Regions from separate parts of the Homo sapiens genome. Here region 1 is linked to region 2. The links are contacts of gene promoters, found by promoter capture Hi-C in blood cells and fetal thymus (Javierre and others, 2016). All regions are on one chromosome and are shown on one strand. The core of a region is centred on a gene start or on the middle of the fragment in contact, and the rest is flanking DNA. Distances in the headings are between cores, read along the strand shown.

The links. Contacts are between HindIII fragments. The CHiCAGO score rates a contact against its expected background, and 5 or more counts as called.
Region 1: a contact is called between a fragment that was not itself captured here and the fragment with the promoter of NSMCE3 in region 2, in 1 of 17 cell types (total CD4 T cells). The highest score is 9.7, in total CD4 T cells.

Annotation. Positions count from the first base shown.
Region 1 is chr15:48,332,388-48,337,856 of GRCh38, forward strand. DUT (deoxyuridine triphosphatase) reads left to right here. Exons shown (of 7, transcript NM_001025248.2): 2 at 1-19; 3 at 2,030-2,121; 4 at 3,659-3,703. Among named protein-coding and RNA genes, the nearest start is that of DUT-AS1, 3.3 kb to the left of the region's middle. RefSeq lists a silencer at 4,630-4,699. The HindIII fragment of the contact is 2,422 bases long and covers 1,395-3,816 here.
Region 2 is chr15:29,265,763-29,271,614 of GRCh38, forward strand. NSMCE3 (NSE3 component of SMC5/6 complex) reads right to left here and starts at 4,060. Exons shown (of 1, transcript NM_138704.4): 1 at 1-4,060. The coding sequence starts at 3,943. The coding sequence ends at 3,029. The region is part of intron 2 of ENTREP2 (endosomal transmembrane epsin interactor 2); the gene reads right to left. RefSeq lists enhancers at 3,355-3,856, 3,857-4,356. The HindIII fragment of the contact is 8,019 bases long and covers 1-5,556 here.

The DNA.
Region 1 (5,469 bases), core at 1,356-3,855, about 19 Mb after region 2:
CGGGCTACGACCTGTACAGGTGAGCGGGGACCTGCCGGCGAGGAGGCTGGGAAGGGCCGGCCGTCCGCTGCCACAGCTAGAAACAGTCACCGGAGAGATCACAGGAACACACTAGCTATAAATAGGATTTCTGCCTTTTTCGTGTTTAAAATTTTAGCTTTCATCTTTGGCATAAATTAAATAGAGATTTGGGCAAAGACTGCAGAATAAGTAAAATAGCTATACGGTGTCTAGCAAGGCGTTACTTTGCAACGTTTATTGTGCCCTTCCTAAATAGAAGATAGAGAGGAAGGCCCATGGTGGCTTTCGAGTGGCCCGAGGGTGATGCTGTGCTCAATAGAAAAACCAAGGTGAGAGCCTAGATGTGAGCGTGAAAATACCTAAGAAGGATGAACGAAGATGCATCTGCCTTAAAAAGTTATTTTCTATACATTCATCCGGCCCAGGGCGGAATTTGAGAAGGCATCTGAAAACGAAAGGCAGAGCTGCCTGTAATCTACCACACTTTCATCTCTACAGCACGTTTTACCTGTACTAAAAACTTTCCGTATGCTGTTGTATTTAGTCCTCACAACAATCCTTAACTAGATAAGTGTTACTTTTTACACAGGCAGGAGTTTGTGAAGAGCTGAATTGATTTCCCCAGAGGCTTGAAGATGATATAATTTTTTATCCCGAATTTTGGGCTTTTTTTTTTTCATCTGACTACTGTGCCCAGTTCTTAGAACCATTAAGGTAGGAGAAAAGTAATGCTGAGAGGGAAGGAGATTTTATACTAAATCCCAAGCATTGGGATTTATTTTAAAGTATCTCAGATAATTCAAACATGAGAACTATTAGTCTAAGCACAGGAGAAGAGAAAGTAGTGCCTGATGATAGCAACAGAAAAAAAAGGAAAAGGAAAGTAGGTATGGACAATTGTAGCTGGAAAAACTACAGTCTCTTAATTTTGATGAATAAAAGTAGAGTGATATAGTTTGACTAGACCTTTCCAAAGTATATTTTGGAGCACTTTCTTGAGTCCTAGGGGAGTCCTTGATTTAAGATACCTTAAGTAGACTCCTAATAAACACAGGTGACTTTCTGTATACTGAAATTGACATGGAAATAATGGATCAGCAATAAATTAGGGCTTAACTGTTTAAAGAGGGATTTCAGTGAAAGAAGGGGTAGTACTGCTTTACCAGAGTTAATTAAGGTCTCCAAAGTAAACTTCCGGTTCTGCTCATTGTAAAATCTCTTAAATTTCTACCCAGGAGAGGGCCACAGTAATATCAAGAGTAGCAGCATTTGCTATGTGGACTTTAGAGGAATTCTGTTCCTAAGCAAGGTCCATCTCCAGGGGCCGTTCACGGTGATCAGCTGTCTCCCTCAGCCAGGAAATTCATAGCCTAAGCTTGGTAAACTACCAAGCCCTGCCTGACAGATACAACACAGTTCTTTATCTCTTATTTTGTCCACCCGTTTTTCTCCTTTCCTTCTGCATATTTTCCCTAATCACACAGATCATTGTGAGAATAAAATGGGTTAATATATGTAAACCAATTAGAACTGTTCCTGGCACACAGTAAAGGCTTAATCAATGATAGCTAGTATTATTAGTAGTATTTGGCCTTTTTTCTTTGTTCTTTCTTCATTTTTTTCCTTTTCAAACTATGGTTGTAAAGCATCCACCTTTTGAAAGTTTGCCTTTCTGCCCTTTCACGCTGATAAGTACCTCAGTTTCCAATAAACTTTTGTTCAGGGGCAAACATTTACAATGTTGACATCTCTTCACACCACCAAAAATATTCATGGAGAATTATTTTATCTAAAGCTGTCTTTTTAATAATAAAATAGCCACCTCTACCTTCTTCATAAACTTTTAAGATGAATTGGTAATTCATCATAGCAAGGTTGATTTTAGAAACTAAAGTTGCATTAATTCATTAAATACACTGAAAGTAATTTTGTATGCTTGGTCACAAAGAAAATATAAAAACAATTTTATAAATAGATTTGCAGTTATTTTCTTTCAATATTTTCTTAGTGCCTATGATTACACAATACCACCTATGGAGAAAGCTGTTGTGAAAACGGACATTCAGATAGCGCTCCCTTCTGGGTGTTATGGAAGAGTGGGTAAGTCATTTAAGAAACAGGTAACTATTTGTCAAGTTCTCCTTTGTGATAGATTCTTCATGTTTCATTTGGGGTAATAAGCAGGCAATATTGCTTGGGCTGTGTCCTAAAAGAAGCACCATTTGTGATAGCAAATGCACTCTTTGAAAGGCTTTATTTACATCTCTGCTTTGCCTCTTTTTGACCCTTTTATTTTTCTCCTTCCTCACTGGAGCTTTTAGGCTCACACTGGCCTAGAAGGCTGTTCTCAGAACATGGCATTTTATATTATGAGAGTAAAACTTCTGACCTGTTGGTCCCAGAATGTGTAAGCCTACTTAACCTTTTCTTGTTTGGCCATGGGGTTAGGGTAAGGGATACTCTTCAGTGTTGTAGAGGCACTGGGAGGAGCTAGGACAAAATGGAGTACACGTCAACAGGTTTGATTTTTCTGGAGCGGATCAGTTGTTACCAGACAGTTCTTTGCAAGAGCGTAAGTTCTTTTTGACTAACTTCAGAGTAAACATAAAGGAGGCAATGGAGCTGTGACGCCCTCCTCCAGGGAAAGGAGCTAGACTGGCACTATATTATTAGCCATGAGTGAGGAAACTGCCAGTACTTCAGCCCTTAAAAGATAACAAGATGGGCTCTCATCTCATCTCTTGAGCATCATTGACTCCATTTTTTAGAATTTTTTCAGGGGAAGGGGCAGGAGATGGAGTGAAATAAAGGTTAGTACAGAAAGAGGCAGCATTATTGACAAAGTGCCTGATTTAAATTATTCTAAAATAAAATGCTGGAAGTTAGGATAATTAATTATAGGCCTGATGCTTGAGTCTGCAATAATAAGGTGTAACCTTAGCTTTTTATTTTTTTCATTTTTTAGGATTAAAAAGTATACTAGCATTGAATCATTGAGACTTAGTTTTTGGCATTTTTACTTAACTGATATTAGCCCATTTATCTTACTCTGGTTCATGTGTTTCCTACAGGCATGTCTTTTGGCATCTGAATCATGAATAGTGGGGTCCCAAGTTGTAGGCTATGGTCTGCTACTATTTGGTTAGGTTTGTTTCCCTCTCCCTTCCTCTTCCTTTCCCTTCCCATCTGCATTGTACATGTTGTGGTGTCCCATCTTAAAACCAAAGTCTTCTTCCTCAGTAGTGTGTTCCTGCTGGCCATACTTCTCTTTCTTCCCCTTTGAGGCTTAACTTCTTGAAAGAGCAGCCTACAGTTGTTCCCGCTTGCTCACCTTTCAGCTCATTCTAGCAGTCCTTCTCCCCTGTCTGCAGCACCACAAATTCTGACTGAAGTCACATGGGAGTGGTTTAAGTTAGTTTTGAATTAAAACCTTGTGGAATTTTTCTAAACTAGTCTTTCCAACTTTGGTAATGCAGTATGATGAATATATATTCTTTAATTCAAAACCATGTGCTAAAGTTAAGATGAAGATATAGATATTATAGGTGAAGAGAATGACATGCTTAAATTGCATCAGTTATCTCTGATATAGCCCTTCCCCCTTAAAATAACCAATGTCTCCTTTTTTGTTTTTTAGCTCCACGGTCAGGCTTGGCTGCAAAACACTTTATTGATGTAGGAGGTAATATATTTCCTTTTTTATTCTGTAAATGTTTGCAAGTATTTACTTTGTCTTTAAAAGGTAATATTCAAATGACAGATTTTATTTTTAAGAAAAGAAAATGATTAGAGGAAAGCTTGTTATAATAGGAGGAAAAGCTTTGTGGTTATTTTAAGTAATTATATTTTGTTTAACTACTAACTTAATTTTTAAAATAATGATTACCTAATTAATAATGACAGATTTAATGATATAATAATTAAGTAATTATTTAAGCAACAAAAGTTCTAGAAAACACAGGTCTATCTTGTAAGAATTTTCTTCATAAGAGAGCTATCTGTCTTTAGCAAAATTTAAGAAGAAAATCTTTCCCTGAAGTCAGGAGAGAAAACACTTTTCTCTAAATTTGTTAAGACAGTCCTCTGTGTTACCTGTTTCCCTTATAATAAAGCCTTTCTCATGTTTGTCTCAAAGTTAACCCTACCTCATGTGGTACCTTTCATGAAGAACCCTCAGTGTCCTCTGCTAACTACTCTTGATACAGAGCTACTCCTCTTATTGTAAGGAAATTTCTACTTTCCTGATGTGGTTTCCTTGTTTCAGGTCCGCTCCAACTGGGATTCAGACCCCACTTATGTGGTCCTTACATACTGACCCTTTATCCCATCAGTAGTGAATCTTTCACTTAACAAGATACCTTGGCCCCCACATAAGTAGGTGTGCTAGATCTCCTCCTCCACCCGTTTTTACAGAGCTGCTTTATGGAGGCTTGTTAACAGATCAGGAAAACTGGCTTAGAAATGAGCCCACATGGATATGTGGTAAAAACTGGAGTCTCTGTGTGATTCCAGCCTCCTTGTTCTTTCCACTGCAATTAATTGTGGAGATTACCCTGCTGCATCCCCCTCACCAACTAAACACGTCCAGAATTAGCTCACTTTTATGTGCCACTGCAAGGGCTAACTAAGCACTTAATGAAACCTGGCTATCCTAGACCTGCCCCTTAGTCTAACATTTGGTGGGTGTGGTGTCTCTCCATAGTGTCACCAGGTGGTGCTGTGGGACAAGACAGGACCCCAAAAGTACACCCTTTAGGGACTAAAGGGGAGCTGAGTTTTACATAGCAGGGTGGACATTGACAGCCCACTCTTGGGTTGAGGATTCCTTGGGCTCTGTAAGTTATGCCCGATGTTCAAAAATGCTTTTACAAGGTCAACTGTGGTCATTTTGGGACAGTAACTTAAGGATATAAATAATTGTATATATTTTCAATGAAGTTTCAAATGATTGTTCAAGGAACGGGAGCTTTGGAATAACAACTGGATGTAGGTCCCAGCTCTGTCATTAACTAGTTATTACTTAACCTTTCTGAGCCTGTTTCCTCATTTTACAATGGAAATTAGTGTGCCTGCCTCTAGAGGTAGGAGGATTAAATGATAATGTGTATGAAATACCTAATATAGTACTTGGCACATATTAGATTCTGTGAGATATAATTTCTGTCCTTAGGGACTTCACAGATTGTTTTTATGTGGAAACTTTTTCTTTTATTCGACTTTGTTACTAATTTTTGCTCTGTTTAAAACAACTTTCTGGAAAAAAATTCATGTAAAAGAATGGAAAGTTAGTTTGCCTAGTGGTTGGTATGGTGTTATTCATAAAATCACATTGTGGTGTGTTCTTGGATGCAGAGAATCTTAACAATCTCCCTTAGGCACAAGTTTATCATAGTTGGCAACAGTTTTTATTTCTGAAGAGAGATGTTGTTAGAAATCCCAGGCTCTAAA
Region 2 (5,852 bases), core at 2,810-5,309:
GTGTGGAAAGTATAAATGATGAAAAACTGGTGCTAGGCTATCCATATAGGAAAAATACAAAAACTATTTCCATACCTCACATCATACACAAAAGCAGATTAAAAGCATAAAATGTGAAGATCAAAACTTTGAACACTTAGGGAAAAAAGGCAGAAAACATATTTACAATTTTAGGATTAGGGGAATTTTTTAAAGCACTATACACAAATGTAGCTCTTATAAACACTAATGATCGTAACACATTTAGGTCAAATGATCTGTATGACCAAAAGAAGTGAAAATGTGGGAGAAGGTATTTGCACTAGATAGATAGAGCAGACCATGGATTAACATGTAGAACATATAAAGATGTCTTACAAATCAATAGAAATAGGTCTAAGACATGAAATCTGACACTCAAAAAGGAGTGAGAGCAAAAGATAGGCAGATACTTAACATTACTAGTAAGCAACAGGTATAAGTTAATACCGTAATAAATTATCATTTCACACTGTACCAGAATGGCTGAAAAGATACTGAAAAGGCCAAGTGTTCACAGGGGGTGAAGGTGGAGGGATTGGTAAACAAAAACAAAACAAAACTGTATAAAATGTTGATGGGAGTGTAACTTGACACAAGCTCAAGAGCAGCTTGGCAATAGTCCTTGATTGCTCCATTTGTTTCTGGCTGGAGAAACTCACACATGTGCCTAAAGAAGTACTGTACAATGCCTGCAAATCTCAAAGAACTGGAAAGACCTTAAATGTCCAGACATTAAGGAATGGATAGTTATTTTTCCCCCATAAAAGAACAATTAAAATGAGTGAATCAGGTCTACATATATCCACATGGCTGAATCTCAAATACATAATGGTGAGTGAGTACAGCAAGTTGCATAAGGACACACGTAACACCGCTTATATAAATCATGAAAGCCCACAAAATAAAACTCTATATTGGTTATGTATATATACATGTATAGTAAAATTATAAAGTCATACAACAGCCCGATAGCCACAGACTTTTGTTACCTCTGGGGAGGGTGAGAAGGAAAAGATATAAGGCCTTGATGTGGCCTCTGATGTTTCATATTTTAAAATTTGAAACAAGATTATCGATGGTAAATTGCTAACACCTCTGAGAAAAGCGGGGGGAATTTTGCCTCAGATATAACTGGTGGTGACTGCTGGGTAATAATTTTTATTATACAGGTGAGAATGCGAGTATCAGAGGGCATGAGGAGGAGAAAGCTGAGTCAGGGAGGTAAGGGGACCAGGAGGCAGGAAGGAGTTTATACACTGAAATAAAATGCAGATCAAGAAGAAATGCCTGTAAGGGCCAAACATATTCCACTGATGAAACAAATGCAAATCCCAATTCAACAGAATGAAATAAAACCCAGTAACCTATCACATTCCTCCATACTCACTATAGACTCTTTTAAATGACATTCCGTCCAGTGTTGATGAAGTTCACTTTTTTCCCCGAGTTAAAAATATTTGCCTTATTTCAAGGTTAATTTGCAGCACCTCCCCCTAAAACAATTAACTTATTTGCCCACTGAATAAAACGTGTTGAATCTCTGCATTAAAAACAGCATCTGCTACACGTAATGGAGGAACACAATGGGACTATGAACTCTTCTAGTTCATTTAGTGCATAAAACTATTATATAGCTATTATTTTTCTCATTTTACAGATAAATTGAGATTCAGAGAGCTTAAAACCTACCCCCACAACCACCATGCTGACAAGTTAGCATGAGCCGTAATTCAAATTCAGTTTGCCAGACAGCCCCAAGACCCATACCCTTTTCCCTATACCTAACTCCCTAGGAGGTAGATCTTATGTCCTGCTCTTATGTTCTATGTGGGGCACACTCACCATACACGTTATATTTCCCCATACAATAGAGTGAGACTAGAGGACTATCTTTTGAACCAGGAATTGCTCTCCTAGGAATGATTTGGAAAAAAAGATAAAGAAAAGTTATATTTAAAAAGTGGCAGCTCCAGACCAAGGAGAATAAAAAATAAAAACATTAAAGAATAACAAATAAAATTCTCCACATCACGGACTAAAACCATTTTACAGGTCAAGAAACATCTGCATACAAACTAAGGAACCTATGTAAATTCATATACTAGTTATGGTGGGGCCAGGATCTCAACCCAGACAGTCCGATTCCCAAACAGGCATGGTTAATGGTTACGCTATTGTTTTATAAGCCTTTTTGAGATCCACAGTGAGAAATATATTTCACCTCATGATCCTGATTTTGTTTCACACAAAAGTGAAACAACTTCTACAAAACAGCATTGACCTTAATATGTAGCAAAAACTTTAAGATGTTGATTTCCAGTCATGAAATTCTCTCATGACCCACGATTTAAAAAACACACAATGCTTAAGTGCTTCAAAAATACAGTATTTATTGTAATAACTACAGTAGCAAGAAGAAAAAAACGAAGTGGAACTACGTGTTTAGCAGCAGAGCTGAATAATTATGAATATAAACAATTACTATTGGGAGAAAATACATTACACTCATTGCTTGGAACCATGAATAATACTTATATATGTACGAAATATAGAAAAATAAAATAGGTTAACATAATAAGGATATAGGCAATTATTTTTTTTAATTTTATAAAAACTTTTATTTTTCCTTACAAACTGGGGTAGTTAGGAGACCTGATAATAGCTTTTTTATTTTCTTGGCACCAAAGCAACTTACTTATGTGTTCCTTCTTGCATTATCTGTTCCAGATCATAGTCAAGTTTTCCAATTCGTTTTACTAAGCTAGCAAAATTTTTTATACCAAAAAGAGTAAAATCAAAACAAATGCTCCTTTGTTTATAGATGAAAATCTGGAGCAAAATAACACAACATTAAAAAAACAAAACTTTGCAAACACATCCTAAAGCTACACACATTGAAGCGTTTACAGCAATATGCTCCCTGGGTTCGTTCTCCCTTCCCCCAATCCTCTAAACTGTGCCTTTGGGTCTCAGACCCTTGTCCCGGGGGTCCCTCTGAATCCACCTTTCAAGAGGATGGAGCTGGGCCACTAGGCTGAGGTCTGGCCCTGTTCTCCTCATCTGCCAAAGCCTCACAGTACTGCGCTGGCCAGTCCTTGGGGTCTTGATTATGGACCTTGGCCACAAACTTAAGAACTTTCATCTTGCTGGTTTCCAGGTTGGTTCGCGGGCCCCACTGGAATTCGTAGTCGACGGGGTCGGTGTGGGGTATCCGCCGGTATTCCAGGTAACGCTGTCGCACAAAGTCCTCAGTAATGAGTTTCTTTGGATCTCCGAAAATTAAATGCTTCTTGGTGGGGTAGACCCCTAAGCGCCGCAGAAAGTCCCAGGCTTCAGTTTCCTTGATGGTGTTGCCCTTCATAAAGATGAGCCCTAAGACGATCATCAGGAGGCCCGTAGTGGGCGTGCCTTGGTCACCCCTCATCTCGGCATCCTCCTCCACAGGCTCCAGGGTGTTGATGAGGATGTAAGTGTTGCTCTTGGGTTCAAGTTCCACCAGCTTATACCCGAAGACGTACTGGAGGCGCTCGGCGGCCCGTTTGAAGAGGTCGGGGAAGATGTCCTTGTAGTCCCCGATGACGTGCTTCAGTATGTCGGCCCGCTTGATCGGAATCTTCTTCTGGTCTTTAATCAGCAAGAACTGCACCAGCTCGGACACTTTCAGCTCCAGCTGCTTCTGGCTCCTGGGCCCCACGGCGGGGGCGGCCTGGGCCCGGCGGGCGCCCTGAGGCGAGGGGCCCTGCGACCCCTGCGAGCCGCCCGGCCCGCGGGACGTGCTCGGGGCCTCCTCGGCAAAGCCGTCTCTGAGAACCCGGGCGTCTTCCCCGGCCCGCGAAGCCCCGGGGTTTCCGCTATGGCTCCAGTCTCTGTCCCTCTCGGCCTGGCCGCCAGAGCGGCCCCGGTTCCTCGGTTTTTGCAACATGTCTCCGGCGGCAGGTGCCGGCGCACACTCCGGTAGGCAAGCAGCCGCGGCGGGGATTGCGGGTCGGCGACCCGCTAACGCCGGTGCCTGGAGGCGCGCGCAGTGTCGGCTGAGACTGCGTGCTGCGTCATGAAGCCTGCGCCTTGCGTCAGGGCGGCTGGGCGGTGCGCCTGCGCGGCTGCGGCGGGTACCAAAAGGAACAGCGTTTTCCGTGCAGCCCTGCAGGTCCGGGCGATGATTTTTAGTATAGTGAAGTGTTGTTACCAAACCATGCAAACAGAGAGCGAGAACCGAAACTCCTAAACAAGTGTGTCGCTAAATTCAGACCACACAGGCTCAGGCAAGTTTTACAGACAGTATTATGAGTTTCTAAATCGGGAGCATTTGTAAACGGAAAGAATTCAGAGGATGAACGTGTGAGAAAAAAAAAAGGTGAAGAGGAAGGGCCGACCGTGGAAGTAAAGTAAAAACATTTATTTCTACACAAAATGTAGAAGGACATAAAAGACCCAGAGGGCTCTTAGTTTTCGTCCCTCCACCCAATTTCATACCCTCCATCCCACTGCCCCCAGTTACTTTCTCTAATGCCCCGTGGAGTCTGTTAAAAACCAAAGTCGGCTGCAGGCTTTCTGCGCAAGCAGGACTTCAGTTTCACTATTTCCGTATTTATATTCTCTGCATTAAACTCCTTTAGCTAGACAACTATGAGAAGACCACAAAAAACGTGTCAGTATTAGGTAAATGTTTTAGCTTGGTCACATGGGTTTATCTTTTGGAAAACAACTGCTTTCGTCACAACCACAATTTTAGCAGAAATGGGTAAGAGGAATGCTGCAAACAAACGTGCACTCTCAAGAGATTACTACTTAATTTGGGGCATCACTGATCAAGAATTGCAATAATGTGGAGCTCTTAAATTTCTTAATTCATAATATATTAGCTTTGAGGAAAAAAAAGAGAACACTGGGGGATTTATCTCTCATCTATGATGTGATATACAGTCTCTACTGTATATTTTAATTGTGCAACTCAAGTAGCCAAAATGAGTCATTTCATTAACTCAAACCATCAGCAGTCTGCTGCCATGACTTCTACAGATCTTAGCAAATTTGTTTCTTCTCTATTTACTTGCAAAGAAGAAACTGAATTTCCCTGTGTCTTTTTAAAGCTACCCAGAAAGTGGATAAACTCTTCAAAGAACCAAATTGAGTTCCTCTTTAATGCAAATATATTCAAAGGAAAGCAATTTAGAACACATTATCTGAGTAATAGCATCAAACACAACCTTATTAAAATTTTGTTAATTGTTAGTAGCATAACACTTTTGTTTGTAATTCAGTAGGAAAATGCAATCTGATAATGGCACTGGAACTGCAATAGTAAATGTAAAATCATATTCCATGAACTAATGCAAGTATGCTAAAATCTGGTATGCAATGAGTAATAACTTACTGTTCCACACAAGATGCAACTATATCCTCAGGCATCAATTTTAATGACAAAGGCCTACTATGAAAAACAAATATATTATCAAGGCATTCATTTTTTTACAATGAGAAAATTCATCTGCTTCAGTTTCCTTGCAAATTAAAATCTGGACTTAGGTTCATAGAAGCTTCCTGCCATCTAGAATTCTGCAAAAGGTCCCTACTGCAGGATGTGGATGTTGTATTGAGGGAATAGAGAGACCGTCTCATATTGTTTTATATTGTTTTATACTCAGTACCTGTTTTAAGAAAAAACAACAAGGAAGTAAAACCAAATACAGGCAGCCCAGCGCCAGGCCCAAAACCAGGCCTGGGCCTGCCTGGCCTAAACCCAGTAGTTAAAAATCAACTCATAACTTAGAAACCGATGTTATTCATAGATTCCAGACATTGTATAGAAGAACATTGTATAAAGAACAGAA